Regions from separate parts of the Homo sapiens genome. Here all the other regions are linked to region 1. Evidence: promoter capture Hi-C in 16 types of primary human blood cells and fetal thymus (Javierre and others, 2016). All regions are on one chromosome and are shown on one strand. The core of a region is centred on a gene start or on the middle of the fragment in contact, and the rest is flanking DNA. Distances in the headings are between cores, read along the strand shown.

Evidence for each region. Contacts are between HindIII fragments. The CHiCAGO score rates a contact against its expected background, and 5 or more counts as called.
Region 2: a fragment that was not itself captured here is called in contact with the fragment with the promoter of EIF2AK2 in region 1 in 4 of 17 cell types (activated CD4 T cells, neutrophils, total CD4 T cells and 1 more); the score reaches 6.2 in activated CD4 T cells.
Region 3: a contact is called between a fragment that was not itself captured here and the fragment with the promoter of EIF2AK2 in region 1, in 1 of 17 cell types (naive B cells). The highest score is 5.1, in naive B cells.
Region 4: a fragment that was not itself captured here is called in contact with the fragment with the promoter of EIF2AK2 in region 1 in 3 of 17 cell types (fetal thymus, activated CD4 T cells and neutrophils); the score reaches 6.1 in fetal thymus.
Region 5: a contact is called between a fragment that was not itself captured here and the fragment with the promoter of EIF2AK2 in region 1, in 3 of 17 cell types (activated CD4 T cells, naive CD4 T cells and naive B cells). The highest score is 6.4, in activated CD4 T cells.
Region 6: a contact is called between a fragment that was not itself captured here and the fragment with the promoter of EIF2AK2 in region 1, in 2 of 17 cell types (total B cells and M2 macrophages). The highest score is 6.0, in total B cells.

What each region holds. Positions count from the first base shown.
Region 1 is chr2:37,154,778-37,159,002 of GRCh38, reverse strand. EIF2AK2 (eukaryotic translation initiation factor 2 alpha kinase 2) reads left to right here and starts at 2,023. Exons shown (of 17, transcript NM_001135651.3): 1 at 2,023-2,095. RefSeq lists silencers at 1,724-1,913, 2,114-2,233 and an enhancer at 1,964-2,093. The HindIII fragment of the contact is 2,417 bases long and covers 437-2,853 here.
Region 2 is chr2:37,874,687-37,878,840 of GRCh38, reverse strand. PIRAT1 (PU.1 (SPI1) induced regulator of S100A8 and S100A9 alarmin transcription 1) reads left to right here and starts at 2,978. Exons shown (of 4, transcript NR_110012.1): 1 at 2,978-3,098. The HindIII fragment of the contact is 8,395 bases long and covers 1-4,154 here.
Region 3 is chr2:37,910,711-37,914,568 of GRCh38, reverse strand. No RefSeq gene overlaps it. Among named protein-coding and RNA genes, the nearest start is that of RMDN2, 13 kb to the left of the region's middle. The HindIII fragment of the contact is 203 bases long and covers 1,632-1,834 here.
Region 4 is chr2:37,926,913-37,931,115 of GRCh38, reverse strand. RMDN2 (regulator of microtubule dynamics 2) reads right to left here. Exons shown (of 11, transcript NM_001170791.3): 2 at 1,387-1,854. The coding sequence starts at 1,838. Among named protein-coding and RNA genes, the nearest start is that of RMDN2, 3.7 kb to the right of the region's middle. The HindIII fragment of the contact is 4,176 bases long and covers 1-3,338 here.
Region 5 is chr2:37,825,716-37,829,750 of GRCh38, reverse strand. PIRAT1 (PU.1 (SPI1) induced regulator of S100A8 and S100A9 alarmin transcription 1) reads left to right here. Exons shown (of 4, transcript NR_110012.1): 3 at 713-818; 4 at 1,873-3,504. Among named protein-coding and RNA genes, the nearest start is that of PIRAT1, 48 kb to the left of the region's middle. The HindIII fragment of the contact is 1,371 bases long and covers 1,356-2,726 here.
Region 6 is chr2:37,846,676-37,850,719 of GRCh38, reverse strand. All of the region lies in intron 2 of PIRAT1 (PU.1 (SPI1) induced regulator of S100A8 and S100A9 alarmin transcription 1), which reads left to right. Among named protein-coding and RNA genes, the nearest start is that of PIRAT1, 27 kb to the left of the region's middle. The HindIII fragment of the contact is 1,998 bases long and covers 1,234-3,231 here.

The DNA of each region.
Region 1 (4,225 bases), core at 774-3,273:
GCGGTGGCACACGCCTGTAATCCCAGTTACTTGGCAGGCTGAGGCAGGGAAATTGCTTGAGCCCGGGAGCCAGAGGTTGTAGTGAGCCAAGATTGTGCCACTGCACTCCAGCCTCGGCAACACAGCAAGACTCTGTCTCAAAACAATTATATTGTAATTCTGGTGCCTGCAGCACCAAGCTTTGCAGCTGAGAGCCCAGACAGTAGGGAATTGGGCTCCTCAGGGAGTCCAATATGCTCACACTTTACCCATTCCAAGAGGTTCACCCATATCATATCATTCCCCTGGACCTCATCACCAACCCTCTGATATCATTCCTTCCAAATCTTTCCCCAGCAGAGAAGGCAGATTTTTACATCACCCCTGAGGCTCCCTGAAATAGGAGGGTTTTCTGGTACAGTCATAAAAGCGTGTGTCCTCTGATCATGCTTAAGCTTGCCATTTTTCATTCTTTAAGCTCTCTTGGGCAGTTCAGGGGCTCAAAAAGTCAGAAAAACTTGTCCTTGCTACTGCCATTGCTGCTGCCACAGCCATCCCACACCCACAAAGCTGACAAATGGACACACAGCACTGTCAGAGTTTTCTTGTCACCTGGAAATGCCACAAAAAGATGGCTCTGCCTCATGTCTACCTTCTAAACCTCCCGCCAGTGCTTTACATATAGGGGACTTAAGCTATGCCCAGGACCAGAGCTACAAGGAAAGTGTAGATTTTAGTTGTTGATACCCTGCAATGTGGGGTTGTTGGGGGATGGAGAAGGGAGGCTGGAGAGGATGCCTGCCTAGGTGTAATTTTTTTTTTTTTTTTTTGAATTGGAGTCCCACTCTGTCACCCAGGCTGGAGTGTAGTGGCATGATCTCAGCTCACTACAATCTCTGCCTCCCAGGTTCAAGCAATTCTCCCTGCCTCAGCCTCTGGAGTAGCTGGGATTACAGGTGCCTGCCACCACGCCCAGCTAATTTTTGTGTTTTTTAGTAGAGACGGGGTTTTGCCATGTTGGCCAGGCTGGTCCTGAACTCCTGACCTCAGGTGATCCGCCCGTCTCAGCCTCCCAAATTTCTGGGATTACAGGCATGAGCCACCGCGCCGGCCTAGGCATAATATTTAATGTATATTTGAGGTCTGTCTTTGGACCACCTTCCTCTCTTATCCCAGCTAAGATACTGAGAGTACAAACTCCTGGTTATAATTCTAACTCCGCTGCTTACTACCTGTGTTAATCCAAATTCTCTGTGCCTCAATACTCATTAGTCACTGTGCCAATGAACTCTGGAACTCTGTGTGACTCTGGGAGTGTGTCGCAGTCCATCAGGTGAGTAGAATTTCTATAAATCGAGGACTACTGGTGTTGGACTATGGTAGGAAGCTCCCTGGGGTACTGTAGGAAGCAGGTGTCTCTATTTAGCAGCAGGACTGGCCCACAGGTGCTTTTACAGCGGCTGGCAAGTGTCTGCTCATGAATGAATGGATGGGTGGGAGCGGAGTGAAGGAGATTACGCCCCCAGGCCTCTGATCCCCAGGCTTGTAAAGGTGAGGGGGCCGCGGTGTGGCAAGAGGGAAAGAGTGCTTTGGTGTTTACAGGCCCCGACTTGAACTGAATCCTGGCTTTGCCACTTACGAGCGGCAGGACCCCTGGGTGAGTTCATTTACTCAGTTTCCTCTATTGTAGAATGGAGCTGGTAAGATCCATCTTCCCAACCCCACCCCAAATATTTGTGTTGAGAGTAAGTGGAACCCTTGATTCGAGAACCTAGTGCGGCCAGCGGACTAGGCCAGCGGAGAACCCTAGGAGCCCCGGGGGCGGGGGATGGGGGTGCAGGGTCCTGGCCGTGCAGGGGCAGCACGTGGGTGCCAAGCCCGCCTGCCGGTGCCAAGCCCGCCCGCCGGTGCCAAGCCCGCCCGCCAGTGCCTCTCGCGCGCACTCTGGATCCAGCGCCAATTTACCCCAATCCCGTAGCAGACGAGGGCTTGTGCGAGAGGGGGCCGGGCGGCTGCAGGGAAGGCGGAGTCCAAGGGGAAAACGAAACTGAGAACCAGCTCTCCCGAAGCCGCGGGTCTCCGGCCGGCGGCGGCGGCGGCGGCGGCGGCGGCGCAGGTGAGCAGGGCAGGGGGCAGCCGAGGGAGCGCGGGGAGCGGGGGCCGGGGGGCCACGTACGAGGGGCTGCAGGCCCAGCCGGGGCGGGACTCGCCAATCCTGCGTCCCCAGCTCAGGACGCGGACGCTGATCCGAAGCCCCTGGCCCCGGCTGGGTCAGCACTGGGAGAGCAGGCCCAGGTCCGCAGCCCGGGTGTGGGGCCCTCCCCAAATCCAGGGAAAGGATCGTGGAGCGGGGTGGGGACTGAAAGCCATTTCCTTCCCGTGAAGAATTTTTATCAGTGCAAGTAACAAATATTTCCCAGGCAGCAGTTGTGGGGCGGGGTCTAGTGGAAGACGAATAGGCCTAGTGGCTTGACACATGGAAAATACGGAGGCCTGAAATACTCATAGACTGGCTGAACAATCTTTGGCTAAAAATCTCTTCCGTGGAGAGTTGCAGTAGTTTCCCAATTGCCTGGCCGCAGTTCCTGTTCCCACTCCGTATCCTCACCCCTGAACCTCCACCCCCTACCTCTTCTCCACACCTCAGCATCTGGAATGTTCCTTTAAGTAAGAACCAGACTCTCCCCTGCTCCGACCTTCCCCGTAGCTTTCCTGTCTCATCAGAATCCTATAAACATTTATTAAGGCTCACAGGCAAGGCCCCTCGCACCCCCTACTCCGGCCACGCTGGCTTCCTTGCTGTTCCTGGTGCACAGCCAAGCATCCTCCAGCCTCTAGGCCTTTGCACTGCTTGTTTCTTCTTTCTGGAAAGCTTCTTCCCCAGATAACTGCATGGGGAAATCCCTCCCTTATCCTGCACTGCTTCCCATGCCAGCTTATCAGAGCAGCCTTCCTCAAACAACCTGCCTATACAAGAAACCCCGCTCTGCCCTTGCTGTTCCCCCTTCCACTACTTCGGTTGTCAACATAGTAGTTATCACCTGGTGACATTTTCTTTCTTTTCTTTTCTTTTTTTTTTTTTTTGAGACAGATTCTCACTCTGTCGCCAGGCTGGAATGCAGTGGCACGATCTGGGCTCACTGCAACCTCTGCCTCTCAGGTTCAAGCGATTTTCCTTCCTCAGCCTCCCAGGTAGCTGGGACTACAGGTGCCCGCCAGCACAGCCAACTAATTTTTTTATTTTTAGTAGAGACAGGGTTTCACCGTGTTGGCCAGGCTGTATGTAGTCTGCTGGAAAGGAAGTGGAGGCATAGCCAAAATAATTTCTGGGCATTAGTAAGATGGACAAATATTATTTTTTAGTGATTATGATGGAGGTTTCTTCCAGATGAGTGAATAAGATGTAGAATCTGCTCCCCAAAGAGCTCACTAATTAGTTTAAAAAGCAGTCAGGGCTGTGTTGAAGGTTGGGCAAGGTGGAGTGGCAAGCCCATACTAGCTGACCCTCCAGCATCAAAGAAGGCTGTGTTGATCCTGATAGATGAGTGGATATTGGTGGGTACAGAGAGAATGCAGATATTGCACTATAAATGTAGAGAAAAGCAGGTGACAAGTCCTGGATGGGGTATCTGGAGATATTTTGGTACTCACTCATTCATTATTGAGCCTGGTCCCTTACCTGTAGTAATTCATGCTCTATTTTGGAAAATAGTTAAATAAGCAATTTTAATAAAGGGGATGAGCACTGTGGAAGAGCCTGTGAAGGAGTGTCTGGGATTTTGAGCTGAAATCTGTAGGAAGTAGAAATTGACCAGGCCAAGACAGCAGAAGGAATAGAGTCAAGGGCATTTTAGGAGGGAGCAGGTTGGACAGAGGCAGTTGGGAGTTCAGGAGAGAGTCCATGGTGGAAGCGTGCTTTTGAGAACCATCATTGTGTCCGTGGAATTTAAAGCCACAAACCTGGAGGTGATCACCAGGGGAGTGAGTCCAAGTAGAAAAGAGCAAGTCTAAGGACCGGGCCCAGTGATGCTAGAATATCTAGAAAAGAGGAAGTTAGAACCATAGAAAAGGTTAAAAAAAAAAAAATAGAAGAAAAGAAGTTGAAGATGAACCAGGAAAGGAGACAGAAAAGGAGTAGCTTGTCAGAACAGAAGAAAACCAGGCCCAGGTGCCATGGCTCATGCCTGTAATCGCAGCACTTTGGGAGGCCAAGGTGGGTGGATCACCTGAGGTCAGGAGTTTGAGA
Region 2 (4,154 bases), core at 489-2,988, 720 kb before region 1:
CTCAGATGGATAATCACCACGTGCTGGTGTAGGGAGAATTTACGGTCCTTATCTTCAAAGGCCTTGTGAAGGCCTCATCACTTCACACTGGGATTATAATACGTAATCACTTTTCATTCATCTATTCATTGATTTATCAAGCATGAGTTGTGCCCTTGAGGAATTCTATTCCAGAAAGAGAGACAGCTTTGTTAAAAAAAAAAAAAAAAAGAAAAAAGAAAGAAAGAAAAGAAAAGAAAAAACAAAACTATCGATCACATGGTAGGTAACAGTATCAGAGAATTCTGTATAAAATGCTGTGAGGGTGGTAGATCATAACCCAAGATGAAAAGGTTTATCATCCTTTTCATCTTGGGTTATGATCAGGGTTGCATATAAAATCCTTTGAGTCTTCCTGAAGTTACTTTCTTAACTATAGCGTGGTTAGGCAAACTTGGCACATCCCTACAATGAGCTACACACATCAGACCACAAAGGATGGAGCCCATATAAATATATGAAAAGCAGATCTTCCCTAGTGGGCCTAAAATGAACCTTCACAGATATGTATCAGAAGGGGATTCATAGCCATGCTCTGTGAGATAGCAGAAACGATAACAACTTTGAAATCAGATGGAAAATTGGACTTAAAAATGCTTCTCATTTAGTTGTGTAATCTTGGACACAGTACTTGCTAGCTCAGAGCCTCTCCAGCTCACAGGATTGCTGTGAAGCAAGCCCCCAGCAGAGGCTGATATCCAGCGTGTGCTCCATAAATGTCGTATAACAATAGCTGCCTTGATCTGCTAGCTTTGGGGTAAATTTTACATATGTCATTTAATCAAGAAAACAACCTTCTAAGTATAATTGTTCATATTTTGCAGATGAAAAGACTGAGGGTAAGAGAAATCACGTAGCTATTAAGTGGTTTAGCTGAAATTCACCCCATTTTTATCCTCTTCCAAAGTTAGTGCTCTTAAGAATTACATAAATAATTATATATTAAGTTCATTGTATTCTCCCTATAGGCTGCTTAAGAATACAATAATATAAGATAAAAATATGTGTACATGAACTTATATTTATCAGTAAGTACTGGGGTATAAAATTGTCTTTCCCTCTTTAAGCCCTAATGTTCATTGACGCGTTAACAATGAGTCACGATTTTATTTCTTGACAGTAGATGGCGCTGGTGATTGTCAAAAGAGACAGAGTCTCCCACACCCCTCTCCTTTCCTGAGCCATTGAAAAACAAAACAAAGAGCTGGTGGAAAAAAAACGCAAAAATTTTCATCGTAATGAAGGATTGAAATTAAAAATTTGGAACCGTCATGTGATTAAGCAGAACGTGTATATGATCCACACACTTTTATTTGGAACTCTAGGGAAAACCTCCTGAGCTATTTGTAAAATTTCATTCTCAGGATTAAAACAAAATATAGTAAAATTTGATTATCCAGACAAAAGATGGATTTATATTTCTCTATTAGACAGATTTTATTTCTGCACCTTAATTTTAGCAAGGGATGAATATTAAGACAACTATGAATTTAGTTGACAAAAAACTCACATATATCTGACTTCCAGAGTCCTGAAGGTGGTATAGAGGAGTATGGTAGTCAAGATAAAAACAAAACAAATTATTATATGACCTTTGAGTATATCACTTAATGTCTCAGGACAGAAGTTTTCTCATTTGTAAAACTGAAATATTTCTTGCCTAATTCACATGGCAGTTGCAAGGATCAAATACAGTAAAGTAGTATAAACACCTTGAGAATTGTCATGTTCTTTCCAAATATGCTTTTTTTCATCTTTACCATACAATCAACCCAACCACCTATAGGTAAAATCATAACACAAGGAAAATTGGAATTCAGAATAAAATACTTGAGCATTAAATTTCCTCATTGGTCCAAAAGCACTTTAATAGGCTTTGGTGAATTAGATTCGTGCAAGAAAAGGGACTAATGTATTTTCAACCATCAAAGGAGTGTTTAGCTTAATAATCAGCTACCCAGAAAATGAAACAGAAAAACACTTGAATCCAAAGCACCGAAGTGAACTGAAGCGGCCTCCACTGTCCTCCCCTAACTGTCCGCACGGCCTGTCCTCTGTAGGAGTGTCCTTGTGTACGTGTGGAGGTTGTGGACACACATGCCTAGGGTTACAGATGCTCTACAGACTTAACTCAGTATAGTGAAGCTGCAGAGATAGTCATAGCCCTAAAGAAGCCTATCTGAGAGCTTTCCTTTGGGTTTTACAAGAGGCATAGATATTTATTCTGCTCTTCTTTTAACAAAAGACTCCCAAATATTTGCTGAAGATGTAGAGTATTGCCATTTCTGCTTCAAAAGCTCTGAGCCTCTCACGGCACCTGTTGCTGCTGCCCCAAGAGCGGAACACACCCTCCACACCAGCAGCCCCAGGACTAGATTCAGCTTCTCAGTGAACCACTTCCATGCTCCACGATGTGCTCTGGGCTTTGGGGACTTAAAACATCGCAGCCGCGGCATAACAGAGATGCGTCAGCTTCTAAAGTCGTAGTGGGCAGTTCTAGAAACCTGACCCTTTCTTCTGCTGCTACAGATTCTATTGGCTTCTGGAGATTCAGAGACGTCCTTCCTCAAGAAGGAACCTCTGCCTGGCCTTCAGCAGGGCCACTGTCATGTGCGATATTCACTTAGAGCCTTATCACATTTGTGGCTGTAGAGGTGTTTGCGTGCCTTGTTTAATTTATCCCACTAGACTGTAAGTTCAGGGCAGATGGGGGATGTCTGGTTTTTGTTTTTTTTTTTTTTGCCTAATACTGTGTCCCCATGCTGGGCACAGACCTAGCACAGAGTAGGTGCTTGGCAAAGAGCTTTTGAATGAATGAATGATTGGCTGTAGTCTTCCTGGGAAAGGGCTGGCAGGCAAGGAAGTGTTAAACCAGCCACTAACCGCCCAGGCTGACCAGCCTTCTCCCTATCTCCCAGGCCTTTCGAACGGAGCCCGGGGAGGACAGGCTGGCAGAGGAGGGAGGAGGGTTTCTAGCTGAGAGAGACTGCGGCTGTGGGCCTGCAGCCTACCCCTCTTCAAGCTCTCCGGAGCCGTTCCTGCGAAACCAGCCCCCACAAGTGAGTGTCTGCGGCCCCCTCCCTCCTCTTTCCCTTATTGCTCCCTGTGGGGATGGGGCTGACACCGAGCTTGATCCTAAGTAAAAGTCTGTTCTAACAGGAAGCAAATAATGTTCCTCCCCTGACGGAGGTGTTTCCTTCTCAAAGAAGTTACAAAGGGCTCTTTTCAGAGAGAAAGGGGCTGGGAATAGTGTGTGGCCTCACTGCCGTCTGCCTTGGGTGGAGCCAGCACGTTCTGGAATCCAGGGGCTTCCTCTTCTAAAGAGGCGCCGGGCCATGCACTGAAACGGGGTGGCCCATCCTCTGGGAGCCCCAGTCCCCTTACCTGCTTGATACAAGCATCCTCTGGAAGTGCCTAGGGTCATTGCCAAGGCCCCTGTTTTCTTTTCTTGGCTTCCAGGACGCCGTAGTCTGTGTTCTTCCTCCCGCCCTGCAGTTCCCTAGCTGGATTCTCTTCCTCGCTGTGATCTCTTCATCCCTGGTTCCCCAGCGCTCTGTCCTGAGCCCCCTTCTCGAACCACACTCTCGTCTGAGTGAGCATATTGAGCTTCATGGCTGTACATTTCCTCCCCGTGCCGAGGAATCCCACACACTTAGTTCCAGCGCCCAGCTCGCCCCCACCTCATCCAGGTCCTTACATCCCCCTGCAGACTCTGTCTCCACTCCACCTCATTGGTGTTTCCCACTCACTAGATCTAAAGCCAAACTCTTGATCCTGACTTCTCCACCCACCAGCTTGCCTTTCTCTTCATCTTCCCCATCTCAGAGAGCGGCTCGGTCCCGAACTGTCTCTTTCCTTCACACCCTTCATCTAACACACAGCAAGGCTTCTCAGCTCTACCTTCAAAATCTACTCCTCATCTTTCTTCTTCCCACCACCGCCACTCAAACGCCCTCGGCCTAGAGGGATCAGACCCATACTACCTGGCTCCTGAACCTCTGCAAGAGTCTCTGATCTTTCTGCTTCCACTCCTGTCTTGCTACAGACTATTCTTCTGACAGCAGCCGGGGTGATCTTTTCAACTACCAGACCGTGTCACCTTGCTTAAAACCAGC
Region 3 (3,858 bases), core at 484-2,983, 760 kb before region 1:
AGAGTTGGGTGTTTGCCCAGAGAATTGCTGATAGTGCAAGAAAGAAGGGGATCTATCCTCTACATCTCCTGTCGGAGGCCTGCGGAGTCAGGGCTCGCTCTCCTGCACCTAGGCCTTGTAGTCTAGGAAGCGCCCTGGGGAGAATGGCAAGTAGTGTGACCAAGTGGAGAGAGTAATGTTCCCAAGAAATACTGAAGATAGATCTTATCAGTACCCACACTCACAAGGGTGGTAGATGTGACTGAGGGCTGCAGAAATGCTGGGGGGCCATTATAGGGAGGGGGGGAAGGGCATGTGCAGTCACAAAAGTGTGGCTTTTTGCCTTCCCCTGGGTGGTGATTGAAAAGGTTTGAAAGAGATTGCCATTGCTTAGGAGTGCTATTTTGGATGTGTCCACACTGTCAGGGCCACTTGTACCCTCCACCTGTCCACACCCAGGGTACAAGGATTCCATGAATTAGATCAGCTGTGCTGACTAAGAGAAAGGATACAGGACCTGAATGCCCCCACTGACCACCTCCATCCCCAACTCTTCAGGTTAAGGGGAGCATCGCAACCAACCAGAAACAGGGCACCCGGCATGCCCTGGGCAGCCACCTGAGGAACCGTCTTTTCTCCTTCTCCTCCTACCTGCACTGATAGCAGAGGAGCAGGAAAGGGAGAAGGTGAAGACAGTGAAGATGGAGAGGAGTGATGGAGAATATGGCTAACCTGATCTAGAGTGAGGGGAGAGAGCTGCTGAACTGGAGATTGAGATGATTGAGATGCTGACTGGGCTACATTTCCATACATTTCCTGACTGGAGTCAGGCTGACACATGGTCAAGGAAACCCACCATGCAGTAGGAAAAGGGAATTTGATAGAGCATAATTGACAGCAGTTTGGAGAAATAAATTCATTCCATGTGTTTATTAGGATTCTCTAAAGGGACAGAACTAATAGGATATATGTATAAATGAAGGGGAGTTTATTAGAAGAATTGACTCACATGATCACAAGGTGAAGTCCCACGATAGGCCATTTGCAAGCTGAAGAGCAAAGAAGCCAGCCCAAGTCCCAAAACCTAAAAAGCAGGGAGGGTGACAGTGCAGCCTTCAGTCTGTGGCCAAAGGCCTGAGAGCCCCTGGCAAATCACTGGTGTTAAGTCCAAGAGTCCAAAAGCTGAAGAACTTGGAGTCTGATATTCGAGGGCAGGAAGCATCCAGCATGGGAGAAAGAGGAAGGCCAGAAGACTCAGCAAGTCAAGTCTTTCCACCTTCTTCTGCCTGCTTTATTCTAGCCGTGCTGGTAGCTGATTAGATGGTGCCCACCCAGATTGAGGGTGAGTCTGCCTTTCCCGGTCCACTGACTCAAATGTTAATTTCCTTTGGCAACACCCTTAGAGACACACCCCAGAACAATACTTTGCATCCTTCAATCCAATCAAGTTGATACTCAATATTAACCATCACAGTGTTACATATGTATAAATGAACTGACATTAGAGGACTCTATTTCTGAAATATTTGGAGTTCACCATAAGAACTTGACTCACCTCCCTGTTAAAATCCAGTTGTCTTGGTTTTCATTCCTTATGACTATTGATATTCATCTGTATAGGAAGAAGGAATGGATTCACTCTCTTCCAAGCTTAATATATAATTCAGTAGCAATTAGTTACCTTAATGACTTTCAGAAACCCCAATGCTAATATTACACCCAAAGGAAAGATGGAAAAAATTATCTCCTTGTCAGCATTCTCTGGGAACTGTTACCTGAATCAAATAGGTCCCCGGAGGAATGGCCAAATTAAATTAATTTATTTTTACAACATAATAGCATTCATGAGCAAGCTTTGGGATTGCTTGCACTTCAAATCAAGAAGAATTCCGTTACTGAAAATTTAAAACCAGCCATATTTGCTTATCATAATTTAAAGACATTTTTATCAATAAAATAATTCAGCATTTAGATTTTAAAACAAATAGAAGTACATTAATTAAAGAGATAAAGCACCCTGTCCTTTTCACTGGATCCTGCTTTCCAGAGGTAAACATTGTTAAGATTTTGAGTGTACAATATTTTTGCATATGAATGCAAATTTCTATGATGTATAAACACGTGTGTATGTTATATATACTGTTTAAACCATATAATGTTCTGCAATTTTTTTCACTTAATGACTAGTTCATTTTGATAACTATTTCATTGTGAGAATATACCGTAATTTTTAACTAGCCTCTGAATTAATAGACCTCTAAGTTATTTCCATCACTGGCTATGAAAAACAATGACTCATTGCAAGTACATTACAAGAAAGAAAAAATAAAATCAGTGCCTGTCATCCAGGAACAGATCTGATGTAGTAGGCCTCAATGTTATTATAAACTAATGTGATGCTTATAGCTAACCCATACTGTTTTCATAGAACATCCAGTTCTGACAAGGATGCTGTGCAATACAAAATGCCAAACACCTGCCTCTCTTAATAAATGAGTGACTGCTAATTCTTTACTAGTTACAGCTTTATCCTAGCTCTTGCCTGCCTTCCCTATAGATAAGATTTACTGAGATACCCAATGACTGAATTGCTTCCTTTCTGACGGTATCAAGAGTGTTCTGTGGAACCTCTCTAAAACTATCCAACTAAAACCCAAATTCTATAATCTGCTCATTCTAATATCATCTTACTGAGACAACCCACAATCAGCTACAGGTGTGTCCCTGATGGTCTTTATTGGAGGGTATTAACAATTTAGTTCTTTAAATATGTAGGTAACATTTTTAGAACTGGAATTCCTGAGTCAAAGAGATCAGTGTTTAAAATTGTGGTAGTTATTGCCTAATTACCCTCCACATATTGCACAATTTTAAAATGCTCACCAACAATTTTTCTGTTGGTTGCTAGCCTTTTCATACAGTTATGTAAAGTTTTCTTTATGATGATGATAACGACTGCAATGAACTAGACACTTTGCTAAGTGATTCCCATGTAACAGACAACGTATTATTAATGCTCATAACAAACCTATGATATAAGTACTGTTGTTCCCGTTTTAGAGATGAGAAAACTGAGGTGGTTAGAGGCTATGCAGTTGCCCAAGGTCACTTGGCCAGGAAGTGCTAGAGCTGGAATTTGCCCTGTCTAGCCCCAGAGTCCCTGCTTGTATCCACTGTACCATGGAGCCTCATTACAGTAATAGAAAATGTGCTGGGTCTACATGAAAAAGTTAAAGCCGTATTGAGAAACATAAAGGAAGGCTGAAATGAATGAAAAGCCATACTATATTCTTGGACACAAAGATTCACTGTTTTAAAGATGCTATGTTTCCTTATATAAATCCACACATTTTCAACCAAAAACATTTCATTTTGGTCCACTTGACAAAATAACTTTAATGTTTAACTGGAAGAAGAAAATGTAACAGTAACCAGGAAAAGTCTGAAAATTAATAATGAAATTGGACTAGCTCTCCCAAGTACTAAAATTTACTGGAACCAGTGCAAGTATTAAAATTTACTAGAACCAGTGCAAGGATAGTGTAATTAATGGAAAAGACTAGAGCCCAATAATAGACCCAGATGTAGACGTAGACATTAGAAACCGATGGAAAATGAGGAACTACTTAGGAAATAGCAAAATTATAACTGACTAGCCTCATACAAAAAATTTTAGATGGATGCCTACTCTGCTACACCAACAGATTTAGCCATAAAATATTAAGCCATACAATTAGACAAAAATTTTTTAAAGCTTTAATCAAAAGCAGGAAGATTTTTCTAATAATGGCATGAAACACATTAGCTATAAAGAAAAATGTGATGGCTGGGTGCGCTGGCTGACGCCTGTAATCCCAACACTTTGGGAGGCCCAGGCGG
Region 4 (4,203 bases), core at 1-2,500, 770 kb before region 1:
TTGTTGACTGGTTTTAAAATAGGGAAGGAAAATATTCAGAAGGAATCTAAAATAATCTTAAATCATTTGAAACTGTGACTCAGAAAAGAGACCTAGTCGGCGGGTGGGTGGGTGGGTAGCAGCGCTGGGCCTGTGTCTTGAGCCTGGAGGGAGTCTGCTCCTGCCGCCCTCTGCCCTGCCAGAGACAGACCCATGCGCTGCCTGCCCACTGTGCCCCTTTGTCCTCATGTCAGGCGGAGGCGGAAGGCCCACCGTGCCAGAGGCTGGGCACCAGCCTTAACCCTCACTCTGCTAGCACCTCCTCCCTTTCCCTGAGGCAGCACATCTGGCTCACTCTCCCCTCTGTCTCTGGAGTCCACCAGGGAAGGCCCTCATCCCCTGCTGCTACTTCTTTGGGGAATGTGGGTTCCATCCAGGGTTGGGGGCCTCTCTGCTCACCCACTCTGCACCCAGGATCCTAGTCCCCTGCCCTCTGGCACGGCTGCTTCCTGCAAGAAAGTAAGTCTTTGGTCTCCCTGAGAAGCCATGTCCCTCGTGCTGTCTCTTGCCTGTCCCACCTGCGCCCTGCCCTCCAGCTTGTATTTAAGTCCCTGGGCTGCCCCTTGGGGTGCCCCTCGCTCCCAGGTTCCCCTCTGGTGTCATGTCAGGCATTTTGCAAGGAAAAGCCACTTGGGGAAGGATGGAAAAGGACAAAAAAATTAATAAATTTCCATTGGCCCTCGGGTGAGCTGAGGGTTTCTGCAAGGAAAAAAAGAAAAGAAAAGAGACCTAGCCACTGGATTAACCCATGCAAAGATGAGACAGAGTCACCTATATACTCTCAAGTCTTTTTTGACCTGCACTAAAATTCAGTAGCCAGTAGCCCAAGTGGCTATTTAAATTTAATTACAATTAAATAAAATTACAACTTCAATGACATAAAAGGAAAATTCAGTTCCTCAGTTGCATTAGCCACATTTCATGTGCTTTGTGGCCAGAGGGGGCTAGTGGCTACCACATTGGGCAGCACAGACTTGGACCATTTCCATCACTGCGGAAAGTTCTTTTGAACAGGAGTGGTCTAGAGAATTCTCAGAAGGAGTCAGAGTGGCTACATTAAAACAGTAGGTTATACACTTTGGCAAGTAATTACTGCCTTCCTCAATATTCACATAATACCACCTGCTACCAGTAAGTTTTTTATATTCCTTTTGTCAATATGGTCTAAACTAGCTTAAATACTGACTACTGAATATGACTTTAATTATAATCTAAGTCAAAATATCACTCCTTTTCATTTTATGTGAGCAGCAGGATATATGACTGGAACCCATAATGAAAATACCTAAATAATAGTAATAATGATAATAACCAATTCAACATAGGAAATATCTTAAAGAAACTTACCCTCCTTCACTTTCTGCTTCCTCTGAACTATTACTTGTTGCTGAACTTTGAATTGTGGGGAGTCTTCTTTTTCTCGCTCTGTGCTGAGGGCTTATCTTATGAACAGTTATTTTCCCTCCAAGTTCATCTTGTATATATTCCTCCAGCTTTGGAATAGCTTCTTTAAGAAATCTGATTTCCTCTTTGAGTTCTTCCATATTTGTCAGTAATTCGTTTAACTTCTCCAGTATCTGAAGTTGCCTTTCTTGAAAGATTACTGTTGTTCCTTGGTCATCATGTATTTCATCTTGCAAAGTTATTGAATTAAATGTATTACCCAGAGAAAGAAATTCAGGTAACTTCATTGCTATCCCTGGTTTACGGACCTTGTGGTACCACAAGAGCAGCAAGCTGATTCCAGCAGTGCCCACCATGATGCCAAGTATCAACTCTTTGTTTGTGGAATAAGGCATTTCTTGGTTTTCGTTTCTAAAATTAAAAACATAAATGTAAATGAATGTTGTTTATGTCTTTGTCCAAGACAAAAATATAGGTGCTTTTTCAATCAACAAAAGCCAAGTTTACATCACAGGATTTACAAAAAGTAGGACAATAGCCCAAAGGGTGGGAAAGGACAAATGGAAGTATACTGTTGTAAGAGTCTTAGATTACAATGAAGAATTATCATATTAAGTTAAAGATGCATAGCTGTAAACCCTAGAATAACCACTAAAAAACAAACAAACAAAAAAACCCCAGGCAATACATATCAAGACAATAATAGAGATAAAAATGGAACACTAAAGATACTCACTTGGTCCAAAAGAAGGCAGGAAAAGGAGAAAAAAGAACAGATGGGCAAATAGAAAACAAATAGAAGAGAAATTACGCCATTATTAAGTGCGAAAATGGTGCCAAAAGATCAAGAAATAACAGGTTTTTTTTGCCAACAGAAAAGAGTCCATAAAAAGAAAAGAAAAATTGATGAAGTAGACATATAGAAAACTGCATAGCAATAAACTTGAGAAGGCAAAGGAGGTGGGCTCTATCGCACAAGCACAGGAGTTGACCTTTGATGGGAACATAAACCATTCATTCATAGTCATAAAAGGCAGATTATGTGAGCAGAGATTTAAATAGGTGGGTAGATGCAGTGGTGGGAGGTTATGCAAGCTCTCTTTGATTGCTTCACTGTTCTAAGATAGGAAGTGAAGATAGGAAGCAAAGTAAATAGCTGGGAGTGTGAATTGGGGAAAAAATATCAGTAAGATGAAAATTCTGAATTAGGTTGTATACCCGAAATTCACCATCCTCTGCTTTATATCCTGTGATTCCACATATTCTACCAAGCATTGTTTCTTACACTTCAAATGGCCAACTAAATGTAATGTTTCAAATGCTTCCTTGGTGGTCTACTGGTTAGGATTTCTGGGCTCGCAAATGCCCTATGGAAGAGGGTCTGAGAGAACAAGCAGCCATAATCTATTTCTGAAAAGCCTGCTTAAAATAAGAACGTCTTTGGATTCCTATTTCACTAGAGTATATGCCTGGAACACAGAAAGTATCCTGTTTGGATGTTCTACACTTCATTACAGGCCTAAGTGTCAAAGAGAAGGACTGACTTTAAAATAATCTTCCAGAAATTACCTCAGGTGTTAGTGAATATTATATCCAAGAGATTTAAGAATTCCTTCTTTTAAACCAAAGATTCCAGAGAAAGCCTTGGTACTTAATCTGGCCTGCTTTACCTCACAGAAATTTGCCTGGAATTAACTTAAAAAAATTTTTTTTCACCTAATTGGTATAACTGGGAACTATAACCATCTGCCCACTCCCAGCTCATCCAGGAGACATGCCAGCAACAGATTCCAATCAATTTGTAACTTCAGCTGAAATTGTAGCTAATTATTGCTAGATGTGTAAATGTATTCTACAAAAAAATTGTATCACAAAACTAAATTATCTTGAAAGCTTATTGCAAAAAAATAAGTCACTCTATGCCCATTAATTACAACTGCATTCCAGCTAATATTCACACATCAAGTTTAATCATCTTTATTTTTGTCAATAAAATTATTCAGGCAGGATGTCCATTCGCTGATATAGAGGTCTATTAAAGGAAATCTTCCTATTCTGATTGCTTTCTTTTGCCCATACCTTGGACTTTTACATTAAGAAATATAGCCTAGTTTGAAAATATTTTCATTTAATAAGCAAATAAGTAGAAGTAAAAATCTACCTAGGAAGGAGAACTTATTCTTGAGACAGGACCAGGTTTCAGCAGGTGGGAAAGTCTTATTTTGCTTGGCCCTTTCTTTAGGAACTGCACCAATTCCAAATCATCTCTTCCATGCAGGTCCTATTATTATTTTGCAGATAAGTGAACTGAGGCACACAGGTGTCAAGTCACTTACCCAGTGATCACCCAACTGGGAAGTGAAAACTGTCACCTTTGACAACCTGTTCCTAACTCTTGGATGCACCCACAACATGTGGGAGATTTGGAAAGCATCAACAAGGAGGTGAAGGAGAGTACTGACTGAACAGAGATGCTCAAAGCTGAAATATTATTTCAGAACCACAAAAATTAACTAGAAAAAAATAGAATCAACGGAGCTGATGTTTTAAACAAACACAATTAAAGACTAACAGTTCAAGCTATGTTTGAGTTTTATAACAGCATAAAACAAATGTGCTTCAACACTGATAATTTGAAAAATGACACATTAAAAATAATGTACAAAATACATCAGAGTACTTGCTTGCCTTCAGAATAATTTCAAAGGTTGTATGAAGTCATTTACATAGCTTTTTTTTTTTAGAGTCTCGCTCTGTCAC
Region 5 (4,035 bases), core at 792-3,291, 670 kb before region 1:
TGGTCTTGGTAAAAATCCCCTGCATACCACAGGCCTCCCTTGGAGAAATCACCTAAAGAAACACCAGGAAGAATTCATTCTGGCCTCAAATAGTTACATGGATGTTTGTTACAAGAAGACACATTTAACCATTGAAGTTCCTACTCATTGAGTGAACCGTGTCTCCCTCCTCTCTGGTTTCCAGAAACAAGGATTTTTTTCTAAACTCCTCTTACTTCTTGCCTCATGGCTAATGCCCACGGAGGTGGGGTGAGTGACCTGCTGGTAACCAAGGGAAATGAATCTGCACAGGAAGCCCAGGCCCTCCCTCCCTCCCTTCTCATTAGAAGCCAGCTTCCCCTGGAAAACAACCACATTCTGCTCTACTTTCTCATGTCTATGTGGCCCTCCCTGAGTGGGAAGGCTTAAGTTTTGTAAGATTCATCATAAGTGTGGTGATATTTCCTAATTCCAGGGAATGGAGCTAGTCATGCCACACATCTTTGCTGTTTTCACGAACTGAGGTAATTTTTATTTTTATTTTTATTTTTTTGAGGAACAGTCTTACTCTGTCACCCAGGCTGCAGTGTAGTGGTGTGATCACAGCTCACTGCAGCCTTGACCTCCTGGGCTTAGGTGATCCTCCCACCCTAGCCTCCCATGTAGCTGGGACTAGAGGTATGTGCCACCTCACCTCCTTTTTTTCTTTTCTTTTTCTTTTTTGGAGAGACAGATTCTTCTTATGTTGCTATTTTAAACTCCTGAACTCAAGTGATCCTCCTGCCTTGGCCTCCCAAAGTGCTGGGATTACAGGTGTGAGACACTGCACCCTGCCCAAGGTAATATTTTGACCTTCCTTTACCTTATTCTTTGTCCATCTCTTAATTAGTTTATAACTTAGACGGGAAAAAAGAGGTGTCTAAATAAATAAATAAATAAATTTATTTAAATAAATATTAAATAAATCCCATCAGTTCCCCATAGAATGCCATTTTCCCCTAGCTGTCTATTCATGTAACAAAACGAACAAGAAAACACTACAAATTCTCTCCCTATTTATACTGTCCCACCATTATGTTATAACTCTCATTATAATGTTTTAGTTTTTCCTTGAAATAATAATCATCAACCCATTTGTAAACCATATGTTTCTACCCACAAGTGACAACCAGAATTTCAGGATTAATTGCAAGAGCCATAAAGAGCTTTTTGGTCATTTCCCTAAGAGCCTCCATGAATAGTAACAAGGGCGAATAGTAACCCCCGGCTTCAGCTGTCCCCACTGCTGTGGCAGGTTATGATACTTTCTTTCCTAAAGTAAAGGCCAAGACAGATGGCTTTTCAGGACTTCCAGAGTCTGTATGACATAAGAAGCTTATTCCAGTAAAGGGAACAAGACCCTTGTCATCTGACACCAATGAGATGCTCTTCCCTTGGCTGGCAGGGATCTGGAGGAGGAGGAGCAGATAACCTTCAGCCTAAATAAGCAATACCATCATTATTCTGGAATCTCTCTGAAGTATGGTTGGTTACAGTGTGGAATTCCACAGGGCACGTGCCTGTCTTGGACTCTATCCAAGGGAGTAAGTTATCACAAGGACCTCATTATAACAGGGGCTCCAGGGACAGTGTCAGTCAGCAGGCTTCAAGGTAGCTGCTAAAATTCTGGTGCTGGTCTGTTTAATCACTGCATGCTTGTTAATACAGTCAAGCCTCAGTTACAACAGAATCAACAGCCCAGTTTGTCACTCATCCATTCCTTGTTCCGTCACCGCCTGGTTGAGTTTCTGGCTTGTTTATGGGGCAACTCTGGGTGTCGGGCAAAATGAATGCCTCTTGTTTGAAATGCCTAATCCCGAGGTTTTTCACCTATGTGTTGTTTTCTCCCACCAGCACCTCTGCTCCGTGCCATGCTCTTGGCTAATTGGAGTTGTGAAAGGCATGAGGATTCTGGTCATGGACTCAGCTCTCCCATAGGGTTCTGACACCAAAGCAATGGTCACAACAGTGAAAGGAAGAATCCATCTGGCCAGGCTCAGGTGGTTCAAGGCCTTCAGAATCTGCCTTGAGACTCTCACTGGCTTTAGACTGAAAACCATCTTGGCCCCGTCCATCCGTGTAAGCAATTTAACGACAGCTTGCAAAGCACCGAGCTTTAACAGAAAGAAGAGATGAGCACAGCGCAAGAACTTGGACTCCAGAAGAGCTGCCTAACAGATTATTTTTCTGTGGCATTTCATGAGAACAAACGAAGTAGGAATTTTCCTTTTGTTTGTCTGGCCTTTGGCATCGTTTACTTTCTTTTTATTCTTCTGAAATGTACTTCGAGCCCTGGCAGCATTTCTGTCCTAAAATCTTATTGTCAGAGGTTTATTTTTCAGCTTTTCAAATCATATCTGATAGAGTGAGTGTACTGCCTGGACTCATCACTTTACTTCAGAAGAAATACAGCTCACCCTTTAAATGACAATGGTGACTGTCCACATCTTTATGTTTTCTACACTGAAGTGGCAGGCTTCATTTAAAAATAATGTTTTCCCTCATCAAAAGAGAGCTAGGGTAGAACCGTCAACTCTGCTGTTGTCTGGGTAGTGACCTAACACCCACGTTTTGGACAATCACTCACTGTCTTATATTGGGTTTTCATTGCATGTAGGATAATTCTTTGTCAATGGTAGTTTTGTCAACCGTGATCTGAGGTAATGAGGTTTTCTACTTTTGCTTGAAATTTTGAAAATATGCAAGCTTTAAACATTTGCAAAGTTGGATTCTGTTTTCTTTAGAAAGCAATCTGATTTGCTGATATTCTCTCCATCTGTCAGGGGATGCGTGATGTGGTGTAGACTTAATGTGCTGCCTTTCTGGAACATGGACAGAGTAGCAGCACAGAAAAATGAGCATTTCAGCTCTGTGATGATTTGTGAAAAAAAATCTCAGATCATTGAGCAGGCATTTTGCTGACACCTGTGAAAAGTAACCACATGAGAGAGCATGGCGTGATGGTCGGAGGCCACGTGCTGGAGCTGGACTGCTTGAGTCAAATCCCAGCTGCTCAGCTGTAGTGAACTGAATGGTGGTCCCCAAAAGATACATGTATCTCCTAATCCCTGGAACCTGTGAATGTGACCTTATTAGGCAAAAGGGTCTTTGCAGATGTAATTACATTGAGGCTCTCAGAGATGAGAACATCCTGGATTATCAGGGTGGGTCCTATATCCAATGACAAGTGTCTCCTTATAGGAGACAGAAGAAGTTGCAGACCCGGAAGAGACTAAGTAAAGATGGAGGCAGAGACTGGAGTGAGGCTGCTGCAGGCCAAAAATGCCTGGTGCCAGCAAAAGCTGGAAGAGGCAAGGAAGGACCTTTCCCTGGGGCTTTTGGAGGGAGTGCAGCCCTGCTGATGCCTTAGTGTTGGATATCTGGGCTATGGAACTATGAGAGAGAAACTTCTGTTGTTTTAAGCCACCTAGTTTGTGGTACTCTGTTATGGCAGCCACAGGAAACTAATACACTCTTTACCACCTGAGTGACCTTGGCCAACTTACTTAACCTCCATGAATCAGTCCCCTCAAAGGACCACCCTCCCCCCAGGGTCACTGTGATGATAAAGTGCTTTAGCATAGGTGACTGGTTTAGACCAGGGCCTGGTACCTAGCACATGCTATGCCAGTGTTTCTATCATGGCAGCAGCAGATGCAGTGGAGCTTAGATTTCAACTGTGTCCATGCTGGTTAGAAAAGTCACAGTCTGGGACACAGGACACTTCTGGAAGAATCTCCCTCAGTGGATCCCAGTGTTCCAGCAATGTTTTCCAAGCAGCTGAAGAACAGGAAGCAGGAACAGGGTTCCCTACAAGAGCCATTATTCAGATGCCTCTACATCTGACTGGTTTCGGAGAAGTGTGACTTCTGGAGGTTTATGTGCTGGGACTTTAACAGCATACGTACTAAAAACCACATTTATGTTTCCTCAAATGCTGGGCTCTCTATGAGCCTTGACCTGCCTGAGAAGATTAGAGGCGGCTGCCTAATCTGATCAGTCAACTCAGTGAAACAA
Region 6 (4,044 bases), core at 983-3,482, 690 kb before region 1:
ATTGTTACAGTGTTGGTCTCATCTCTCTCCATCCTATCTATGTCTTAGGCCTAGCAACACTGATGTTGGTGCCTGGGGCAGGTGATAGAGGAAGGAGTTACCTGTGTGTTTGCCTGTTTGTCAGTGGTGGGCAGATTGTCTTGGCTCAGTCTCCTCTTCTGTTGTTTGACCCACAGAAAATGTGCTACCTCTTGGTTGCATAGGTGGGCTTTCCTCTGGGTTCGTGGATTGGTTCTTTGGCTGGTAGTGGTGAAGGAGGGAACTCACTGAAGCACCTGTCCACCCTCACTGCACATGTGAAGTCCGCCCCTCAGTCCATTTCACCACCGTCTCTTTTCACCATCCTTGATGGATGGGTTTTGGAGTGACCATATCATGATGGCCTAGGTCTCAGCTACTTTCTACACTATTTTCTTGATTGACCTACATGGAGAAAGTTTCTATCTTTGTTCCTCCATTGAGTGGTAAGAAGCCAAGCTGTCTTCCCTGACCCCTCAACCTCCCATTCACCCTTTCTGCTCCACTTTCTCCCATACCCTTGCATCATCAGGCTATCTGTCAGTTCAGTGGTTTAGTGCTCAGCTGAGCCAGGACCTGACTAAGATGGGAGGTTGAGGGAAGTGGTGGTGGTGGTGGGGTGGGGTGGGGCAAGTCAGGAGTCACTGATTGCACAGGAAGGGAACTTTCTATTCTTTTCTCTCATTTCCTTAATAAAGACGAGAGAGAAGTCATCATAAAGGTGCTGTTGGTTCACTCCCTCTTAGAAACTCTGTGGCACGGTGTGGCACCTTCTGTTCTTAGCTATGAGCAATCTTTCCAACCTTGCATTGGGTTGGATTGGTGGAGGGAAGGGGGCTCCCCAATCTGTACCTCACATTCTTATGTTCTAGAAAGTAGGTGGCAAAGCCAGGATTTAAATCCAGGCTATGTGGCCCCAAAGCCCATGACCTTTTCTCTACGTAGCGCCATCTCCGCTATGTACTATATTTTAGAGTGGAGCATGCTTTGAAAAAAAATTAAATTTCCAAGCCAAGAAAAAGAGTACAAGGGAGTGTGGGGATGGGGGTGAGGTGGGTGGATATTTTTTAAGTCTTTGCACAAAATTTAGGTAGAAGAAACCAAAAGGGGTGGGTATGAAGGATGTGAAGTTAAAATATCTAAATTTCTGAAACAAATACTATGAGTTTTGCCTGGGAAACATGTACTAATCACTTCCTCAAGTGAATGAAAGCTTGGCCATATCCTACTTCTACTCATGGTAGATGGCTCCAGTGGGTATATTATTTTCGTATGCCTATGAAGTGTGGGCTTGCAGTAAGAGCAGAGATCTGTACAAGACTGCAGAAGGAGTGAAGCTGCCAGGACTTGAAGCTATGTTGACCTGACTGTATCCAACACACAGAACTCAAACACCACACTGTTCATAAAGCAGAGCCAAGGAGAAGGTTTGGATTCTGAGAGCAGACATAGGGAGGGGCCATGTTAGAAGTGGGGGAAGAAGGAGAAGGGGCTGCCACCAACTAAAGTGAGTGTCCTGTCCTCTTTCCACTCAGAAGATTATCCTTCTCACCCTTGTCATTCAATATCTCCCCATCCAGAACACCCTCTTCCCTATTAACCACATCCAACTGACATACTCAGATTTCCTTACAACTTCTTTTTACAGGCTGTTTAAGCCCTGGGTGACTGCCTCTGACTAAACCAGTCAACTGTTGGGTGTAAGTTGTGTTACGGAGAAAGGGTATCTTGAATCAGCTGTGATTTGAGGTTGGACTCACTCAATCATTTTGTATTTTAAGGCATTCTTTGAGGAAGTTCAGAGGTTCACTCCATCCTATTTGAATTAGATTGGGTCTTCAATTTATGGCCATTTAACTCAACAAGTGAAAAGAGTCATTTCTAAGTATTTCATTTTATAATAAGTGGGAAATGAATTGAAATAAAACAGATAAAACAAATAGCATTTTCCACACTATTCACCATTATCTTTCCCTCTGGCAATCAAAAAGTACCTGGCTAATGGTAGCGTGTAGCCAGGTACTTTTCTATTGCCAAAGGGGAAGATAATCTTATGTGACTCACTCCCTGCCCTCAAAGGCAAGGAAATAAGATTGTATGTCTGCAACACAAGCAAGACCATAAGTGACTTTAAAAATTAAGAGATGTGAGAATTGAACTAATCTTTCCAGAATAATGATGATGATAATGATGAAGACGACTGACACTATTTAGTGTTTGTTATGTGCAGGGCACTGTGTTGTTTTACATACTGAGTAGCATTTACACACGCAAGGTAGGGCACTTGTATTGCAAGCAGATGGAGCAGCAAGAGCACAAGCATGGAGAGGGAAGGCTCAGGGCCCATGTGCAAACAGAGCACTTTGGTTAGAAGGCGGGGTACATGAAGGGCACTGGGGGGGTAACAAAGCAGAATGGGTAGCTAGGGGCATGTTATGGAAGATCTTAATTCTACAGATGATGAGGAGCCACATATAAATTTTGAGTGATTTCTATAATTGCTCCCACCCTCCCTGATAGAATTTATCATTTTTTCTCCTGTGCCAGTTGTATTATGTTAAGTTTTATAGAAACATCTGTATCCTGTAGATGTTTCCAAGTTTTTTTTTTTTTTTTTTTTTTTTCTTGATTACAAGCCTCCTTGAGAGCAAGGCGTGGTGCAGAATAGGCTCTTACATGTTGTTCAAAAGAGTCATCATCGCTGTTACCGTCAATCTGGCTGCAGTGAACAGAATGGACAGAGGGGGAGGCAGCCCAAAGGCCAAGAGATAGGCAATGAGACACAACATAGGAGAGGAAGTGTGGACTGGGATGGGGGTAACATGAATTGAGAGCGGGAAGCCTGTGAGAGACAATTTGGAAGTTAATGTTGGTGAAACAGAGCAACTGTGATTTGATCTATGTTGGCGGGTAAGATGGGGTGGAATTGGGGTCCAGGCATTACGAAGGGCTCCCAGGAGACATATTGCCAGGGTAGGCAGAAAGAGTCCTACTCCAGGGGAAGGCAGAGCTAACTGTGAAGATGTGGGTCTTGCTCAGTTGCTCCTTCTGCCTGGAATTCCCACTCACCCCCACTGTAAGTAATCCAATCATACACAACTTTCAGGAACATCTCAGAACATCTCAGAAGCCTGTGCCTTTTAGATGCCTATCAGAATCTCTATTTCTAGGCATTAGCTCTCCCACCTTCCAACCCATATAGCATTTTAAGCTTCCCATGTGGCATGTTCAGTTTCATGTCACACTTATTTGTTCTCTTACCCCTTCCTAACAGAACATAGGCTCCCTTTGTTCTGTGTTCATACCATTTTATTCATTTGAGTGGAACAACTGCCCTGATTCCAGAGCTTTATTTTCAGATCCAAGGGGAGGGGAAGAAGTCAACAGTGACTCCAAGGTTTTTGCCTGAACTATCAGAAGGATGGAGCTGCCATTAACTAAGATGGGGAAGAGCATGATTGATAAGAAATAGCAGGAGGTCATTTTTGGACAAGATATATTTGAAAAGTCTACTACACAGCCCACTGGAGATGTTGAGTGGACAGTTTGATATATAAATTTGAAACTTAGGAGTGAGATACAAGCTACAGGTATACATTTGGGAGTTGTTAACTTACAAAGGGCCTTTAAACGCTTCAGACTGGATGGGATCATCAGTAAACTGAATAGGGCTAGAAAAGAGAAGACATCCAAGGACTGAACTCTGAGGTACTCCAGAGTTTGGGGAGAAAAGGAATAAATAGCAAATGAGACTGAGAAGTGACTGATGTGAAAGAAGGAAAACAAACAAAATGCAGAGTCCTAAACATAGCAAGATTAAAGGATTTCCAGGGGAAGGGAATCATCTATTACTTCACATTATGCTACTAGGTCAAGTAAGATAATGACCGAGAATTGAATTAGCAATGTGGAGGTCATTGGTGAACTTGAAAGAGTACTTTTGGTGGAATGGTGAGGACAAAGGTTTGATTGGAATGAGTGTAAAAGGGGAATGAAGGAGAGGAATTAGAGGCAAAAACTTTGAGA